2 separate regions of the Homo sapiens genome follow, and region 2 is linked to region 1. The links are contacts of gene promoters, found by promoter capture Hi-C in blood cells and fetal thymus (Javierre and others, 2016). All regions are on one chromosome and are shown on one strand. Each heading gives the region's core, a stretch centred on a gene start or on the middle of the fragment in contact. The rest is flanking DNA. Distances are from core to core; before and after follow the strand shown. Region 1 holds the start of UNC93B1 (unc-93B1 regulator of TLR signaling). Region 2 holds the start of PPP6R3 (protein phosphatase 6 regulatory subunit 3).

The links. The method cuts DNA at HindIII sites, captures the fragments that hold promoters and counts their contacts. A CHiCAGO score of 5 or more calls a contact.
Region 2: a contact is called between a fragment that was not itself captured here and the fragment with the promoter of UNC93B1 in region 1, in 1 of 17 cell types (total B cells). The highest score is 5.5, in total B cells.

What each region holds. Positions count from the first base shown.
Region 1 is chr11:68,002,311-68,007,894 of GRCh38, reverse strand. It overlaps UNC93B1 (unc-93B1 regulator of TLR signaling), which reads left to right and starts at 3,798. Exons shown (of 11, transcript NM_030930.4): 1 at 3,798-3,947; 2 at 4,097-4,238; 3 at 4,720-4,873. The coding sequence starts at 3,852. RefSeq lists enhancers at 2,755-3,297, 3,298-3,841, 4,746-4,795, 4,896-4,945, 5,046-5,245 and silencers at 3,676-3,975, 4,036-4,445. The HindIII fragment of the contact is 17,319 bases long and covers 1-5,584 here.
Region 2 is chr11:68,460,607-68,465,844 of GRCh38, reverse strand. It overlaps PPP6R3 (protein phosphatase 6 regulatory subunit 3), which reads right to left and starts at 5,093. Exons shown (of 24, transcript NM_001164161.2): 1 at 5,018-5,093. RefSeq lists silencers at 4,633-4,742, 4,793-4,842, 4,853-5,222. The HindIII fragment of the contact is 633 bases long and covers 2,760-3,392 here.

The DNA of each region.
Region 1 (5,584 bases), core at 2,549-5,048:
GCTGACGCTTCGCCTCTTTGGGCCTCAGTGTTCCCATGTGAGAATGGGGCTGACTACAGTCCCGGGGGCATCTGTGGGTGAATGAGAGGGTTCGGCAGGCATGGATCTCAGCACCTGGCATGGAGGGCGTTAAGTGTGAGGTCTGGGCTCAAATCCTGGTCCTGTCACTTACCTGTGTGACCTAGGTTAGTGTCTTAACCCCCCGTGCCTCTGCCTTCCCATCTGTAAAATGGGACATAAGTGATTGTGAGGCTGAAACAAGTTATTCCATGCACGTGGGCCCGGAACTGTGACCATTCCAAGTGCCCGGCCCCCTCTGGAAGGGTCTGAGAGCTACCTTCCAGACTCTAGGACAGGAGTGTGGGCAGGGCATGAGCATGGCATCAGGTGGAATCATTCATCCATTCATAATTCATTCATTCATTCCCTCACTTCTCAGAAACACGCCCCTGAGCCTGGCTCACAGGGCCTCAGACCTGCCCAAGAGCATCTCACTGCCTCATCTGCCCACGAGTGACCTTGAAAAGAAACGTCCCCTCACTGGGCCTCAGTTTCCCCAGCTGTAAAATGGGGGCTGACTCTGCCTGCCTCACATGGCTACTGCGAGGGTGAAACGAGAGCCGACCTGAAGGCACCGACAGGGCACCTGGTTCTCAGTAGGCGCTCAGAGCATGTGAATGTCCTCCTGCCCCTCTCCTTGCCCTCCTGAGGAAGTGGCTGCCCCAGGCCTTGGCCCTGAGGCCCTGGCCCTGCCTCCCACCCCCTCCCTGGCAGTCTTGAAGGCTGGACCCACCCTGGCTCCTTGAAGAGGCAAAGTTAGAGGCTGTAGGGGCCCAGGGCCCAGGACACAGTCAGAACTCACGGGCAACGGTGAATGCGGGTCACTTGTTCATTTACGCACTCAACAAACCTTTACTGAGCACCTACTGTGTGCAGACACTTCACACAATTTTCACAATTCCCAGACATTATTGACCATGCTTTCCAGCTGGGCCACACAGTGACAAGGACTCATGGGGATCCACAACCAGCCTGGCCTGGCTCCCCGGCCCACGGTGCTTCCAAGGTGCCTGGAGCCCTCGCACAGGAATGGGCTGGAGTCTTCAGCTCTGGGTGAGCCCTTTGCCACCAACTCTCAGGAGCCTCAAGTCTCAGTGGAAAGCAGCAGCCACCTGGGCATTTGCTGTGCCAGGCACTGGGCAGAGCCTTTGGCACACCCCAACCTGGGGACCTCCCACCATCCTGTGAGCCAGACTCAGTGATCATCATCCCCATTGGCTTTAATGTTTAAAATATTGTGGAATCACATCCATGCCAGGGAAGTGGTGTGAAGGGAATCACGTGGGCTGCCCAGCACGCTCCTGTGTCAGTGCAATGCGGGGCAACAATATTCCAAGAGGTTGTTTCAGGGAGTTCCAGTTGAGAGCAATATTTATTCTCTTCTGCTTGCTTTTCTGCAAGGAACATCGATTATTTTCATAATGAGAACTGAAAGTAAAGGCTTATTATAGAGAAAAGCATTGGCAAACAGTGAGCACGGGGGGATCTGGCCACCCCTTCCTGGGGATGTGACTGTGCACTGTTGCAACCTGGATGGGTTGGTGGAGGTGCTGGCCCTGCTCAGATCTCTGTCCCGCAGGTCACCCTGGTGTGTTTATCTGGGCCACCCTATCAGCCTCTTAGATAGTCTCCAGGCTCCCCAAGAGCAGCTCCATAAACCACCTAAAAAAAAAAATCCTTTCTGGAGAGAGGAGGTGTATCAGTCAGGGTTTAGTGCCTCCAGGGCTGTTTTTTGTTTTTTTTGTTTTTTGTTTGTTTGTTTGTTTGAGAGGTCTCACTCTGTCACCCACGCTGGAATGCAGTGGCACAATCTCAGCTCACTGCAGCCTCATCCTCCTGGGCTCAAGCAATTCTCCCACCTCAGCCTCCTGAGTAGCTGGGGCTACAGGTGTCCACCATCACACCAGGCTAGTTTTTGTATTTTTTGTAGAGATGGGTTGGGGGGGGGGGTTTGTCTCACTTTGTTGAGGCTGGTCTTGAACTCCTGAGCTCAAGTGATCCTCCTTGGCCAGCCAAAGTGCTGGGATTGCAGGCGTGAGCCACAGCGCCCGACCCTCTCCAGGTGTTTTGAGTAGGAGACATTGAGTGCAGGGAATTGGTGGTACAGCACAGGTGATGGAAGAGCCCAGGATGGGCAACCATAGCAACCGCCACAACCCCCAGGCCCAGAGGAACAAGGGGAGGAAGAGATTGCACCAGGCCCCAGAAGTTTGGGGTCCCTCAGGGAAATTGAGAAGCTCGGGGGGCCCACTCCCAGCACTTTGGGGGCTAAGGCGGGTACATCACTTGAGGTCAGGAGTTCGAGACCAGCCTGGGCCAATATGGTGAAACCCCATCTCTACTAAAAATACAAAAATCAGCTGGGTGTAGGGGCACACGCCTGTAATTCCAGCTACTCACAAGGCTGAGTCAGGAGAATTGCACTTTCTCATCATACTGTGTAATGATGCTGGTGTCTGCCATCTGAGAACGGCCCCCGCCATAGCCATACTCTCCCACCTCCTCCCTGCCCCTGCGCCTCGGGCCCTGCCCTCTCTTCGGCTCCTTTCCTGTCTCCCACTTCCAGCCACCCACCTGCATGAATCCACCTGTCTGTTCCCCACATCTGCACTTGGGCATCGTCACCTGGAGAAAGTTCTACCTCCTGGAAGCCTGAAGCCACTGCAGATTCACGCCTCCCCCCACCTTCCCAGCAATCCTTGCGGGGTGGGAGGTGTTTGTCATCCAGTCACTCATGCACCCATCCAGTCACAAGTATTGATCACTCAGTAGGTGCCCAATGCCATCCTCTGCATTTGGGAGAGGATGTACCTAAAGAGCAGTGGGTGGAGGGGGGTGCACAGGGAGGGCATGGAAAACCAGAAGGGAAGTGAAGGGACTGCATTCTCTGCAGGGATGGTCTCTTGTTCTGAGAGCTGAGTGGGAAGGAAGCCACCTGGGAGGCGCAGCAGGAAGAGCATTCAAACCAGAAGGAACCCAGGGGAGAGAATCTGGATATTTTCAAAAGTGGCCCCGTGGCTCCAGCCAGGTCGGTGGTAGCCAGTGCTTTGGAGTGTCGGCCCCACCACAGGCTCCCGCTGCAGCCCGGGATCCAGTGCCCAGCAGGATGGGGGCAGGTGGCTCTGGGCCCCACTACATGGTTGTGGCAGGGTCCCCCATGTAGTTCAGTGGGGATCACAATCTCCACCTCCCAGGACCCACTCAAGCTCCCATTTGCACAGCCCAAACTGGAGCAGGATGGGGACATGGGAGGTGGGCTCTGGCTGTAGCGTCCGGTGGTGGGAGGTGGGGTCCAGGTGGTGACGCTACTGTCCCTGCAGTGCTCTTTGATGAGCTGTAACAGCAGGCTTGGAGGTGGGGCTGGGGACGACCCAGGCAACCCTGAGGGGAGCTTAAGGGAGCCAGGCAACCCTGGCACTTTTCCAAGGCTTTGCATTAACTCAATAGTTCCGCCATGGCCCCGGGGGTAGTGCCATGTATTTCTGTTTTACCGTCGAGGAAACGGAGGAAACCGAGGCACAAAGAAATGGAGTTAATTCCTAAAGTCACAGGGCCAGGAGGTGGCTGAGTGGGGATTCGAACTCACACCCCAGAGGGCACACACAGGCAGGCCCCTGCACACACGCGCGCGCGCGCGCGCACACACACATACACACACACGTGTCCTGGAGGAGGCGGCCCGCAGGGCGGGACAGGGCGGGGCGGGGGCAGGTCCCGGCCGCCGGGAGGAAGTGGCCGGGCGGTCGCAGGGACTCCGGGGCGACCGCCGCGAGTCCGCAGTAGTTCGGGCCATGGAGGCGGAGCCGCCGCTCTACCCGATGGCGGGGGCTGCGGGGCCGCAGGGCGACGAGGACCTGCTCGGGGTCCCGGACGGGCCCGAGGCCCCGGTGAGCGGGGACCCGGAGTGCGAGGCGCGGGCGTCCCCTGTGGGCCAGGGTCCCCCCGGCGGGGGCGGGGCGGGCCGGGGGGCGGCGGGCACCGGGGGACACGGGTTCGGGGCGCGATCGCGGGTGCGAGCGGCGTGCGTGGCTCGCAGCTGGACGAGCTGGTGGGCGCGTACCCCAACTACAACGAGGAGGAGGAGGAGCGCCGCTACTACCGCCGCAAGCGCCTGGGCGTGCTCAAGAACGTGCTGGCTGCCAGCGCCGGGGGCATGCTCACCTACGGCGTCTACCTGGGTAGGTGCCGCTCGGGGACCCGGGGCCGCCCCGCCCGCTCCCAGCCCGGCCCGGGAAACAGAAACCGCGGGCCGCCGCCTCCCGCCCGCTCTCACTTCCCCTCCGCTGCCCTCGCAGCTGCAGCCACGGCCCCCCGCGGCGGGGGTGGGGTTGGGGGGTCAAGTAGCGCAGCGTCCCCGGGTCCCAGCCAGAGCCTCGGTGTGGGTGGGGGACGGGGGTCCGGGCTCCCGGACAGACCTGCCACCGTCAGAATTGGAGGCCGGCGGAGCAAGGCGGGTGGGGGTCTGGGCTTAGCTGGCCAAGTGGCCGCGGGCTGGCAGAAGGCGTGGCGCAGCCCGGGAACCCCGCTGTCCTGAGGGGCGCTGTCAGCGGGAATGCCTTCGGTGATTGGAGCTCCCTGCGAGGCCTGCATGCCGTCTTCTGCTCGGTGGCGCCCAAAGCTAGGCTGCTCCCTGCACGCCGCTCTCTGTCCTGTCCCCAGGCCTCCTGCAGATGCAGCTGATCCTGCACTACGACGAGACCTACCGCGAGGTGAAGTATGGCAACATGGGGCTGCCCGACATCGACAGCAAAATGCTGATGGGCATCAACGTGACTCCCATCGCCGCCCTGCTCTACACACCTGTGCTCATCAGGTGGGCGCGGCTGCTCCTGTGGGATGCTGCGGTACTCCCATTTCGGAGGGGTACAGAGGCCGGCGGGCCAGGAGGTGTCCATCTGCCGGGGTGTTTGTGGGGCGAGGGAACAAGGGAGAGGTTTTTTTCTACCCGGAAGCCTGAGAGTGAAGGGGGTGAAACTCGGATTTGGGGAAGGAAACAGGAACTTTGCCTCAGGGCACATTTGGTTTCCAGCAACAGATTCACACGGGCTGAGCTCCCTCCCAGCTTGCCTGGGCCTCACGTGGCACCCTCCTCGTGGCCTCCTTGGAGGCCTCCCAGAGCCACTGTGGCCTTCAGGGTTGGGGCTGTAGAGTTAGGGGTTTCTGATCGGTCAGCAAAGTCCAGGCACCCATGCCTGGCCCAGTCGCTGTGACTGGTGCTGAGGGGGTGTTTCTCACAGACAGGCATGGCTGGGCAGGTGCCCCAGAGCTCTCCCCCAGATCTGAGCCCTGGAGGTATGTGGTTCAGCCTCCCCATCACCGGTCCACAGTGCCCTCCCTGATGGGACCTGGAGACCAGTGGACAAATTAGGTGAATTTGAGCTCCCTCATCTTTAAAACAAACAAACAAACAAAACAACAAGAGAAAACTCCATTTAAACAAAAATTTGAAAATTTAAAACATCTCCCGTTGCACAGGCAGGATTAGAATAACTGAAATCATAAAAAAGAAACCCCATCTAAGCCC
Region 2 (5,238 bases), core at 1,827-4,326, 460 kb before region 1:
TGGCAATCTCAACCACCCAAAGTTTAAACAAATCAACCAACTGACCAGCAAACAGAAGCTCTTTCCTCCCAGGCCCCATTGACACCATGTACAATTCTTAACAGCTTTGTCGTCTCTTGTTTGCCTCTTCCTCTAGACTGCAGGTCCTTAAGGGCCTGTTCATCAGTGAATCCCTAATACAGTTCCTAGCAGAGTAAGGACTCAATTAATGTATTTGCTGATGAAATAAATGGATATTAGAAGTAGATGGTGGTCACTGGTAGTTCTCAACATAGGCACAGGCCGAATTTCAGGATGAAGAATAAGAAAATGCCTCCATGACCTTTTGTAACTTCAGATATTAACATTTAGCTGCTAAAAATTTATAGTTTTCCTAATATTCTTCCATTCCATAAACTAGATAATCTAAATTTTAATATGAGCAAAAAAGATCTACCCTTCTCTCTACCACTGCATCTCATCTCCCCAGGAGAAAAGAACACTTCTCTGCTGGGATCAGAGTCTAGGGCACAGAAGAGTCCAACTTACCAGTGGGCAGGATCACTGTGTTAAAGGCTGAGCATACTGTATGCCTATCTGTGCCCTCAATGGGCAGAACTGGTAAACTGATCCAGGGCTAATTCTCTGGGAATAGGTCTTTATTAAAACAAAAACAAAAACAAAAAACAGGCATGGTGGCTCACGCCTGTAATCCCAGCACTTTGGGAGGCCGAGGCGGGCGGATCACTTGAGGTCAGGAGATCGGGACCAGCCTGGCCCACATGGTGAAACCCCATCTCTACTAAAAATACAAAAATGAGCCAGGTGTGGTGGCACGCACCTGTAATCCTAGCTACTCAGGAGGCTAAGGCAGGAGAATCACTTGAACCCAGGAGGCGGAGGTTGCAGTGAGCCAAGATCATGCCACTGCACTCCAGCCTGGGTGACATAGTGAGACTGTCTCCGAAAAAAAAAAAAAAAAGTTGAAGCTGGCATCTAAAACCAGACCTGACCACTGACTGACAAAAGGAGGGCAAAAGATACTAACTCAAAAATTACAGTAGTGTAAGATTATTCAGCACAGAAGCAAACTCTAAATATCTAAGAATTTTGCTTAGTTTCAGCACAGTATGGTAATGTATTTTCATGAGGTTAAGAAAAAAAAGTCCTAAGATATTTTATAAAATCAATTAACAAATGCTTCTAAAGTTCAGTCTTCAGGCATCTGAAAAATGGTTAAGTATACCATCTAAATAATCCCCACTACTAAATAATCTCCAAGGCAGGATCTAGGTACTGCAAAGACCAAGTTCACAGATCACCGAAAGGAACCCTTAACTCACAAACAGTCCCTAAACCTGTGGTGTAAAACAGTGGTTCCAAAATTCAGCTGCATTTCAGTATTGTCTGAGAAGCTTCTAAAAAATAGATTCTCGTGGCCGGGCATGGTAGCTCACACCTGTAATCCCAGCACTTTGGGAGGCCGAGGCGGGTAGATCACGAGGTCAGGAGTTCAAGACCACCCTGGCCAAGATGTGAAACTCCATCTCTACTAAAAATACAAAAAACAGCCGGGCATGGTGGCGGGTGCCTGTAATCCCCGCCACTAGGGAGGCTGAGGCAGAGAACTGCTTGAACCCAGGAGGCAGAGGTTGCAGTGAGCCGAGATGGCACCACCACACTCCAGCCTGGGCGACAGAGCTAGACTCATCTCAAAAAAAATTAATAAGATTCTCAATCCCACCATTTCCAGAGGTGGAGTCCAACATCCATGGTCTTAAAAAATTTCTAATTATTCTAATGCAGGCTTATTCTAATGTAGGCCAGTCTCACATCTATCTAAGTGCAGGATTTCTCAACCTCAGCAGTGTTGCTATTTGGGACTGGATACTTTTGCTGGCGGGCAGGGAGGAGGCTATGCTGGACACTGTAGGATGTTTAGCAGTATCCTTGGCCTCTACCCTCCAGAAGCACACTGCCCACTCCCAGAGGTGTAACAAGCAAAAATATGTCCAGACACTGCCAAATGTTTCCTGGGGGGTGAGGGGGGAACCACCCCCAACTGAGAACTCTTGAACTAGAGTAAATCAAAAGACAATCATTTGAAGTTAAGAAAGGAAAGAAATATGAAAGCTGTTTAAAGCCAAGAGGCCAGATCTTTTTTTCAGTACATTAGAAAAAGTAGCAGCCAATACTGGGGTGCAGACCATAACTTCTAAGGACCAAGTCAATGCTGAGTTTTAGTTGAGCAGATAGAAGAGCTTTATTTTCACTATCATTTACTCTTATTTAGTAAAATACTGTAAAATTTTAGACCAAAACACACACACACACAAACACACACAGAGGCTGCCTCTCAAATACTGAAAATATAGAACTAGACAATGGAAGTTGTCATAGAAATAAAATACCGATCGTGACACTTGTTTTAAAGAGATGTTTATTTGTAACAAGCACATAATCTACCAAATAGGTGCAAAGCCCTATCTTTTTTTTTTTTTTTTTTTTTTCTGAGACTGAGTCTCGCTCTGTCTCCTAGGCTGGACTTGGCTCACTGCAACCTCCGCCTCCCAGGTTTAAGCGATTCTCCTGCCTCAGCCTCCCAAATAACTGGGATTACAGTCACACGCCACCATGACCGACTAATTTTTGTATTTTTAATAGAGACAAGGTTTCACATGTTGGCCTGGTCTCGAACTCCTGACCTTAAGTGATCCGCCAGCCTCGGCCTCCCAAAGTGCTGGGATTACAGGCGTGAGCCACTGCGCCCGGCCAAAGCTTTATCTTAAAAAGCTAGGCAACCTCATCCTGTCAATGTTACTTCTATTCATTTTCTGCTCAGCTATGGTCTGATTCTCAAATTCTCAATTAGTTCATTGAAACTAACAACTTTTTGCTTGTTGACTTTGCTTTGCTATACTTTACACAAAGGCTAGAGTTCTAAACCGAAAACAATCTTCTTCCTGTCCTTAAGTTCCACCAGCAAGATACTCATCTCTACTTAAGACTGAGTCCATCAAAACACACATCTCCAATACAGCAAACCAAGTCCCAAGTAAACACAACAATACCAGGGGAAGGTGCACGCAAGGTTTCGAGCACCATGGAGGAGAGTATCGGGCAAGCGGTAAAGGATTGTGAGTTTATTTCTGACTGAGTGCAGGCATTTTGTTCAATGTTCTAGACTCCCTGACCAGACATGCTGAAGTGGAGAATACCTTCCAAAGTATCCCTCCAGGACAAAAGCTATTTCCCAAACTATCTTTGCTGAAGAATACTGCAATCCACGGCACCCTTACAGTTTTCAGTAACAAGGAGGACTTACACTAAGAAACCCTAGTTACTGATTCGGGTGGCAGTCACCCAGAAACTAGTATCCAAAAGCACATGAGGAACAAAGCCCGACTTAAGCTTGTGATGGGCTTTTCTGTATTTAACCATCTCTTTAAACATTATGAGGCGCTACTACTCATTAATTACTCCGGTAAATGTTCCTAATTTAAGGAATGGTCAAAAACCCTGTCCTGAAAAAATTAAAATAACTTATAGTTTTACTTTTTCAGCCCAACTGAGTCTTACACAGAGCTTTCTAAAGGCAGTCACCAAGAGTCGGGACTCAAATGCTCATCTGACTTCCCAATAGTACCTAAACATTTAAAAATCAAATTTAAATTAAACAATAATAGCCATTAACTAGCCTAACCACTAATCAGCCACTGAGGTGACTGTATGTGCCAGGCACAGCTCTAGCTGTTTTACATGTATTAGGGCAATTATCCTGACAAACTTATGGCTGGGACACTTATTATTATTCCCATACTACAGAGAAAAAAAAAGAGAAGCTGGGTAACTTGCCCAAGGTCACAGAGCTAAAAAGTGGTCACTGACTCCACTCCACAGTGAGGAAAACCCAACCACCACCATAACTGGGTCTCATACACTTGCTACTTGAGGCACAGTTCGGTGGTTGGAAACCTGGAGTCCCTGTCCCCCTTGAAGCCTATCTGCAACATGACCTTGAGGACAAAATCAAAGTAAACGTCCCACGAATAAAGGACACCACCCCGTCAACAAGTGCTGCGAGGATGAAAGGGAACGCCTGTCAAGCACCCCCTCCCATAAAAGCAAAACAGACCCAAAGCCCCACAGAGAAAACGTGAAGTACCAGGAAAATGACATTAAGTCACGCGGTTGAAACGTCAGGGCACGGAGGTACATCCAAAGACCCATCCCGTTCACCTATAATTAAAAAGTCTAAATTGTGATCACAGCCAGCAGGACCTCAACAGGAAACACCTCCAAGTAAACAGTGAATGGGCTTCTTTAAGAGGGAGGGACTTCAAGCCACAAGAAGGACCACCCACCCCCCCCACCCCCGGCTCAAATACACCAGGGAGGCATTCGAGACAGTTTACATACAAGCCACCTCACAGGAGTTAAAAAGCCACTGGGAAGGGTACTGGGAGCCTCGGAACTGGCTGGTGTGGATCCCGATGACTCTGCGGCGAATTAACAGAAACCCACAAAACTTGTTTCCCGAAGAGCAGAGTCCAACAATGGTCTTCGCGACTCTTGACGGCGAGTTGCTGCCTCAACTTGACGCGCTCCCCGAGGCCCCCGGGAGGCCCAGCGGGAGCGGAGACCGGGCGCGGGCCGGGCGGGGGGCGAGACTGCGGGCCGCGGCCGGCGGGCGGGAAGGCTGGAGCCAGAGCCGGGTCAGGGGCGCGCCTCGCCCGCCCGCCGCGCCAGGCCGCGAACGTCAACGAGGCACAAAGTCGCCGCCCCGACCGCGTCCCGCTCCCGGCGCCCGTCCTGGCGGGGCCCCCGGCTAACAGGAGCGGACGGGGAGCGGCCGGGAAGGACTCGGCGCCGCGCCTCCCGGGCCCGCGGAGCGACGAATTCCGGGGGGGGAGGGGAGAGGGGCCGGGACGTTCCCTCCCTGAGCCGCTGAGGCCAGGTGGAGGGGCCCCGCGCCTGCCCGCGCGCCTCGCACACCCCGCGCCGCGGCCTGCTCCGGCGCCTCCCCTACCCCCATTACCTGGAGGTGCCCACGACCCGCCGCTAGTTGCGCTCAGGCGGGAAACGCGCTCACCGACACCATCAGCGAAGCGCCCAAAATGGCGGACGTATCAAGCAGGCCTTGAGTTCCCCCCCGCCCGCCCTCTGGCCGCCTCTCAGCCAATCGCGGCCCTGCCCCCGCCCCCAGCTCCAGGCTCATTGGCCCCTCTCTCCCGCCCCCTACTACCTATTGGATCGCCT